Linked DNA regions of Homo sapiens: all the other regions are linked to region 1. Evidence: promoter capture Hi-C in human tissues and cell types (Jung and others, 2019). All regions are on one chromosome and are shown on one strand. The core of a region is centred on a gene start or on the middle of the fragment in contact, and the rest is flanking DNA. Distances in the headings are between cores, read along the strand shown. Region 1 holds the start of HPS4 (HPS4 biogenesis of lysosomal organelles complex 3 subunit 2). Region 2 has its middle 16 kb from the start of MN1. Region 3 has its middle 26 kb from the start of MIR6817.

Region 1 (2,638 bases), core at 36-2,535:
CAAATAAACCAGTTGCTGTGGTAATAATGGAACCCAAATTAAGGAACTGTCATCTTGACAGTCCAAAAGTAACCTGAACATGCAGAATTCCAGAGCAGGGCAAATTTCTAAAAAATGAAGAGAACTTTATCAAATGGCTTTCAAACTTCCACAAGAGAAAGACAGCTCAGTGTATCACGGAATTTCAGAGTCGGAAGGAACCCTGGCATCGTTTACTCTACTCTCCTGCACTCTTTTCCAAAAATTACCTTGGCTGTCTCTGCTTTACACCCTCCAGAGATGCGTGGTTCACTATGTTACATTTCTCCTTCCAACAAACTAAAATCTGCGTTCCAGATTTTACATCTGCCTCCCACTCGCTAGTCTGGATAACGCTCTGCAGGAAAACACAAAACAAGGTCTAATTCTTCCATGTGACAACCTCTTGGTCACTTCAAAACTATTGTCTAATTCTTACTGTCACTTTCTCCAAGCTTAATGCTTTAGCAACATGGTCTCAAATGTTTGCTCACCATTCTGCAATCTGTGGGTACACAATACAGTTTGTTAAAAGTCTCTAGAGACGACCCCCATTGAATATTTGACGGCCTGTAAAATCTCTATCTCTTCTCAGCTCTAGATATTTTGGATTGGGCCTCCACAGGACCACACTCATTGTATTCTATGGAGCATATTTGGGTGCCTGTGGAGGGGGTATCTCTGTTACTGGAACCAAGGACAGCAGCCTAAAACTCCCCATCCCTTGTTCCCAGAGGACTGGGCCCTACACTACCGAGGTCCTCTCTTATCTCTGAAAGGTCCAGAAGAGACCAATAATGGCCCTGGAGTAGGAAGAGACGTCGGAACATGAGCAGAAAAGGATCTGGTAGCCTGGGAAGTAATAGTAACAACGCGGGGCTGGGGCTGGTGATACTGCTGTGGGAAGGGGCCTCAGTGGGGCAGCAGGGCTGGAAAACGGACGCTAATGGCTGGAAAAGGGCCAGGAAGCTGCTGGGCGCAGCCCCCGGGGCGCAGGCAGCGACTGGTAACAGCACTAGGGCTGTGCGGTGTCTGGCCCCAGCTCTACGGGACTGGGAAATGGTGGGCGAACGCCTAAGGATTAGGCGGGGTCGGGTCACGCTCTAAGCTGGGGGCCCGCCCCTCGGTATCCCCGCGCTCCGAGCGCCGCCCACCCACCGGAGTAGCCAGGCATCCCAGTGCTCGGGGTTCGGGACTCTGGACCAGAAATGTGGGCAGCAGCTGGGTACCTGCGACTTCTGCCCCGTACCTGCGCGCGCGGCAGAGAGGCCTTAGGTCACGCGCCGCCCCGCCTACCTCCCCCTCCAGCTCCTGGCAAGCCGGCGCGCGGCGATGACGTGCCGAGTGCGCCGCACGCCGCTGACGTCAGAGACCAATGGCTGCGGCCGCAGCTGCGGCGCTGGAATCCTGGCAGGCGGCGGCTCCGCGGAAGAGGCGCTCCGCGGCTCGACGGCCGCGGCGGAGGGAGGCGGCGCCCCGGGGGAGAGAGGCGGCGCCCCGGGGGAGAGAGGCGGCGCCCCGGGGCCCCGAGGCGGAGTTCGAGTCTGACAGCGGAGTCGTGCTTCGTCGCATCTGGGAGGCTGAGTGAGTGCAGGCTCGGCCCTGATGGAATCTTTGCGCCCATGGGCAATTCTGAGCCACAGTCTCCCCATCTGTAGAGTGGAGATATAATGCACACCCTTTAAGGAGTTATTGTGAAGAGTTAACGTAGGTAACGAGCTCATTAAAGATGTGGATTATAGTAAGCGCTCAGTTAAAGGTCGTCTTTCCTTTTATTACGGTTACAGCTGCGTGACCTTGGACAATTTATAATCTCTGTGCCTCAGTTTTCTCATCTGTGAGATGGGGATGAAAATAGTACATACGTAGGTTTGTTTTGAGGATTCAATGAATTAGTAAACGGAAACCATTTTCTGGCACGTGGTAAGCACTGTGCCAGTGTTTGCTATTAATATTATGCCGATGTTGATATTATTGGTGGTGGTGACACGAGGGAAGCAACATGAACACGTGACTGCTATCATCAGGCAGCTGCTATGTGCCTGACATTAGCTTAATCATTCTACACACTTTATGTTAAACATTGCAGGCATACTAGGACCCTGGTAGCTCACTGATTCTCAAAGAGACAAAGAAAATGTGTGGAACCAGATTTCAAACCCAGGTCTTTGTGACAAAAACCAGTGCTTCCAGCTTTCCATTATGCTTGTTGCTTATCCCAGCCCAGATTCTCACATACCTTGCTCTGTACCTTAGAAAGTACATAGAGAGTGCCTAATACAGAGGAAACACTCAATAAATGTTACTTATTATTGTTATTTAGTATTATTATCTTTATTCGCAGTTTTGTTTAGGCTCAATAAATAACAGCTTTAGTTAGCACTTAAGATCAGCATCCGAAGGGCCGTCACAAGGGGAGAAATTAGATTAATTTTGTGTGCTCCTCTCCCCTAGAATTAGGGTCAAGAGGCAGTAATGTCCCAGAGTTTACCTCTGAAGAGAAAGTTGCTGACCATTTGGCTCAGCCTGAATAAAAAGCACCTGCGATTATTTTTAAGCTCTCAGAGGATGCCAGTGAGAGTGAATGTGCCTAGGGGTTTGGAAAACTCAAGGCATTTTT
Region 2 (2,638 bases), core at 53-2,552, 1.3 Mb after region 1:
CTCCCTTCCTTCCCTCTCTTTCTTCCTTCTCTTCCTTCTCTTCCTCACTTCCTCCCTCCCTCCTTCCTTCCTTCTTTTCTCTAAGCCATTCTCTTTCCATCAGTCTCAACACTATGTCACATAGAAAAAAATCATCTTTGAGCAGCTGAAACAGGACGGGTAGTGACCTCCTGCTTGGTGGCTTAAAACAACAAAACTTTATTTTCTCAGTCCTGGAGACCAGACTTCTGCAATCAAGGTGGGAGCAGAAGCTTGCTCTCTCCTGGGCTCTAGGGGAGAGCTTTTCCGCACCTCTTCCAGCTTCTGGTGGCTCCCAGTAACCTTTGACTTTCCTGAACTTGTGGAGGCATCCTTCCAATCCCTGCCTTTGTCTTCATGTGGTGTCCTCCTGTGTGTCCCTGTATTCAAATCTTCCTCTTCTTCTAAGGGCGCCAGTCATATTGGATTTATGTCCCACCCTAATCCAATATGACCACATTTTAATGTGATTGCATCTATAAAGGCTCTATTATCAAAAAAGGGTCGCATTCACAGGGTCCAAGTGGATGTGAGTTTTCAGGGTAAACTAGTCAACTCAGCACACCTTGATTCTTTTTCTTTTCTTTCTTTTTTTTTTCCTGAGATGGAGTCTCGCTCTGTCACCCAGGCTGGAGTGCAGTGGCACGATCTTGGCTCACTGCAACCTCTGCCTCCTGGGTTCAACCAATTCTCTTGCCTCAGCCTCCCCAGTTGTTGGGATTACAGGCATGTACCACCTCTTCTTTACCAAAAATAAAAATTAGCCAGGCACAGTGGTGCACCTGTAACAATCCCCGCTACTCAAGAGGCTGAGGTGGGAGGATCACTTGAGCCCAGGAGTTTGAGACCAGCCTAAGCAACATGGTGAGACTTCATGTCTACAAAAAAAAATTTTTTTAATAAAAAAATATATATCGTGGCTGGGGCCAGCACTTTGGGAGGCCGAGGCAGGCAGATCACCTGAGGTCAGGGGTTCATGACCAGCCTGGCCAACATGGTGAAACCCTGTCTCTACTGAAAATGCAAAAAAAAATTAGCCAGGCATGGTGGCAGGCGCCTGTAATCCCAGCTACTCAGGAGGCTAAGGCAGGAGAATTGCTTGAACCCAAGAGGCGGAGGTTGCAGTGAGCCAAGATGACGCCACTGCACTCAGCCTAGTCTACAGAGCGAGACTCTGTCTCAAAAAAAAAAAAAAAATATATATATATATATATCTAGGTGTGGTGGTATGCACCCATGCTCCCAGCTCCTCAGCTACTCAGGAGGCTTAGATGGGAGGATCACTTGAGCCCAGGAGGCTGAGGCTGCAGTGAGCTATGATTATGCCACGGCACTCCAGCAGAGACCCTGTCTAAAAAAAAAAAAATCCACATGCAATTATAGTTTTGCCCGAAGAAGATGAGGTCCAGCTCTGGGTGGTGACAATCATATTTCTATAGTATGTGGCATGGGTTGAAAGAACAAGCTGAGACCACATTCTCCTTCCTGGATCCCTCTAATACTCTGGCCAGAACAAAGCACCATAAGGAAGATGAAGTTCAGAGTCGAGAAGGCTTCCCAGGATCACAAAGCAAGCTAGAAACAACTCCCCACTGAGGCTGGAACCCACCTCCTGACCTCCAATTGTGAGATCCTTTAGTCTCAGAAAATCAAAACCATCTTCTTCCAACCCCCAGAAGAAATATCAGGCATGACTCCTCCAACCAAAGACAACTACCCAAGAAGTACTCGAAGTTCAGCAGAATCTAATTTTGCACTGGAGGTGACTAGAGCATGGGGTCACCTCTACACTCGCATAGAAAAGGCCTGGGTTTGAACAGCGAGAAGGGGCCATGCCCTCTCTGAACGTCTTAGCTACAGACCTGTCTCCACGGGGCCTGGGATGCCCAGAGAAATGTGGATCCTCTGGCACAGGCATTTGAGTGTCTCCTGGCAGTTACAGGCGTATACGAAGGCGGCCGAAGAGCCTGGCTCACCTGCCTGATGGAAATACGTCTCAGGAACACCAGGCCCTTCAAGTTGGTTTGACAAGCTCCCTTCTGGAGACGCTGGGGTCCTCACTGCTAAGACAAATTCCTGACAGAACCCCATACTCACCTTGACCTTGGGCCGCTGGGGGAAGCCTGCAGAGGGTTTGACAGAAGCGCACAGCGCAATGTCAAGGCTGCTGCAGAGGGGTCTGCAGAAGACAGGCCCAGACTGCCAGAGGATCATGGTCCATCCCGGCACTCAGCAAGGCCAGCACCCTCTTGGAGCCTTTACTTCCTCATCTGTAAGAGGGAACAGCTGAAATCCTATCCCTGGAGTCACTGTGAAAAGTCACATTTTGGGTTTTCTAATTTATTTTTTTTAGAGACAGAGTCTTGCCCTGTCACCCAGGCTAGAGCACAATGGTGCAATCACAGCTCACTGCAGCCTCACCCTGCCAGGCTCAAGCGATCCTCCCACCTCAGCCTCTCAAGTGGCCAGACTACAGCCACACGCCACCATGCCCAGCTAATTTTTAAAAAAAAATTTTGCAGAGATGAGGTCTCATTATATTGCCCAGGCTGGTCTGAAATTCCTGGGCTCAAGCTGTCCTCCCACCTCGGCCTTCAAGTCATGGTTTTTTGTTTGTTTG
Region 3 (2,638 bases), core at 78-2,577, 1.1 Mb before region 1:
GAGGAAACATACAGAGGGATCCCAGGTACTCCGGCCAGTTCCCTCAACGGTAGCACCTTGCAGCTACAGTAACGGATCAGAGCCAGGAGATTGACATTGATACAGCAAGAAGGGAACACTTCCCTCCCAAACATCCCTCATGTTGCCCTTTCACAGAAACACTCTCTTCCCACTGTCCCAAACCCCTCCTTAGCCCCTGGCAACTATTAATTTGGTCTCCACTTGTGTAATTTTGTTATTTCAAGAATGTTCTGCACATGGAATCATACAGTATGTGATTTCTGGGGACTGGCTTTCTCCCACTCAGCATAGTTTTCTGGGTGTTCCTCCAGGTGGCTCGGTTGCAACATACTTTGTTCCTTTTTAATACTAAATAGGAGTCTAAGTATGTAACCTTCTGAGTCTGGCTTCCTGAGTTCAGTGTAACAATGTTGCAATTCATCCCAGTTGCCTTATTGATCAATAGTTTGTTCCCTATTATTGCTGAGTCTGATTCTCCGTCTTGCTCTGTCACCCAGGCTGGAGTGCAGTGGCGAGATCTTGGCTCACTGCAAGCTCTGCCTCCCGGGTTCATGCCATTCTCCTGCCTCAGCCTCCCGAGTAGCTGGGACTACAGGCATCTGCCACCACGCCCGGCTAATTTTTTTGTATTTTTAGTAGAGACGGGGTTTCACCGTGTTAGCCAGGATGGTCCCGATCTCGTTTAGCCATTCACCAGCTGAATGACAATTGTGTTGTTTCCACTTGTGGGGTGTGTGTATGTGTGTGGTGGGTCAAACCAGATGTTTCTGCTGTTCTGTGTGTGTGTGTGTGTGTGTGTGTGTGTGTGTGTGTGTGTTTTGAATAGCAGGTGTTTTCTTTTTAATTTTTTTAATTATACTTTAAGTTCTAGGGTACATGTGCACCGTGTGTGTATACAGATGTTTCTGCTTTTTGCCAATGGTGAATAAAACCAGTATAAGTATTTGCAAACAAATTTTTGTTTGAACATAAGTTTTCATTCCATTTGGATAAAAACCTAGGAGTAGGGTTTGCTTGATATGCATAAGCATATGTTTATTAGAAATTGCCGGCCGGGTGTGGTGGCTCACGCCTGTAATCCCAGCACTTTGGGAGGCCAAGGTGGGTGGATCACGAGGTCAGGAGATCGACATCATCCTGGCTAACACGGTGAAACCCCGTCTCTACTAAAAATACAAAAAATTAGCCGGGCATGGTGGCAGGCGCCTGTAGTCCCAGCTACTGGGAAGGCTGAGGCAGGAGAATGGTGTGAACCCGGGAGGCGGAGCTTGCAGTGAGCCGAGATCGCACCACTGTACTCCAGCCTGGGCAACAGAGCGAGACTCCGTCTCAAAAAAAAAAAAAATTGCCAAATGGTTTTTAGAGGGGAAGCTGGTGGGGGTGGGGACATAGGGGTAGGGGAGGATTCGGTTAATGAAGCCTCCACCAGCCCAGCTGGGAAATGGGCCTGTATCCAGCACCGAGGTGCCCAGGCCCTGTGCCCAGACCTGAGCTAGACAGGGTCTCAAGATCGCAGTCAGTGAAGGGTCAGAAGCGGCATCTTCTGCTCCAGAAGCTTCTGTTCATGCAGGCCCTGCCCCCTTCTCAGGGCTCTGTAGGAACTGTTCAAAATGCTAGGTGCAGAGCTATGGCCAACTGTAGGGCACAGCCAGACACTCAGAGCTCAGAGGGACCCAGGGTGGGCAGGATTGGCCAAAGCCGGAAGTGGGTACCTGCAGGTCACACGCCACCTGCTGCCTCTAGACCTTGGATATTTCAGGGGGCTTGGCCAGTTACAGGGAGGGAAAGGGAAATGGGGACCCTTCCAATTGCTGCCGTGGGACCCTAAGGTCTTGGGTAGTGACAAGGAACCTGGAAGCACAGCTGCCCCCAAGAGGCCTTCCAGGGTCTCTCCTTCATGGGCAGGACTTCAGACTGGACAGTTACTTATCCGTTTTTCCATCAGTCTGTCCATCCATATATCTGTCCATACACACACACACCCACCCTTCCACAAGCCCCCTGAGGCTTCCTGGGGCCTGACCTATATAGACCCTCAGCTCCTGATGTCCCAGGCAAGGCAGGATCGGCCTAGCCCAGCCCCAGGTGAGACCTGAAGTGTGCCTGCTCATGCACCGTGGCAGAAGGGGACTGTGGCACTGGGGTCCCCTGGGAGTACTTGTCCCTGCCCAGTCCAGAGCTCAGGCTGCAGGAAAGACCCTCTGTGAAGAAAATGAGGGGCAGGGGATACTGGGGATTCCATGTCAGCAAAGGTGGCCTGGGGGCAGTGGCAACCTCAGACAGGCCTGGGAGCTGCAACCAGGGCTGGAGGGCAGAGGGAGGAAGGGCATGCTGGAAGATGGGTGTGAGCAAAGGCACAGGAGTGACCTCAGCGCCCCTTCTCTCAACAGGGATATGGCAGGTGCACATGGGCCCCCATAAAAGCACGCTGAGGGATCATCTCAGAGACCCTAGAACCTGTCTGCCATACCACGTGCTCTGCCACCCTGCTCACCACCCAAAAATTCCTTCCATTCTGCCGCATGGCTGGGCCCTGCACTGGGCCAGGCCTTCATGGCGGGCAGGGGACAAGGGAGGGAGGGGGTCTGGGCCCTGAATGGGACACAGACAGTGGCCA

The links. The method cuts DNA at HindIII sites, captures the fragments that hold promoters and counts their contacts. A contact is called where the count stands out against the background at its distance.
Region 2: a fragment that was not itself captured here is called in contact with the fragment with the promoter of HPS4 in region 1 in 1 of the 25 tissues and cell types used here (dorsolateral prefrontal cortex).
Region 3: a fragment that was not itself captured here is called in contact with the fragment with the promoter of HPS4 in region 1 in 1 of the 25 tissues and cell types used here (mesenchymal stem cells).

What each region holds. Positions count from the first base shown.
Region 1 is chr22:26,482,498-26,485,135 of GRCh38, forward strand. It overlaps HPS4 (HPS4 biogenesis of lysosomal organelles complex 3 subunit 2), which reads right to left and starts at 1,286. Exons shown (of 14, transcript NM_022081.6): 1 at 1,177-1,286. It overlaps SRRD (SRR1 domain containing), which reads left to right and starts at 1,380. Exons shown (of 7, transcript NM_001013694.3): 1 at 1,380-1,602. The coding sequence starts at 1,394. RefSeq lists an enhancer at 1,334-1,453 and a silencer at 1,474-1,563. The HindIII fragment of the contact is 11,927 bases long and covers 208-2,638 here.
Region 2 is chr22:27,816,900-27,819,537 of GRCh38, forward strand. No RefSeq gene overlaps it. Among named protein-coding and RNA genes, the nearest start is that of MN1, 16 kb to the left of the region's middle. The HindIII fragment of the contact is 5,315 bases long and covers 1-2,638 here.
Region 3 is chr22:25,427,887-25,430,524 of GRCh38, forward strand. No RefSeq gene overlaps it. Among named protein-coding and RNA genes, the nearest start is that of MIR6817, 26 kb to the right of the region's middle. The HindIII fragment of the contact is 6,166 bases long and covers 1-2,638 here.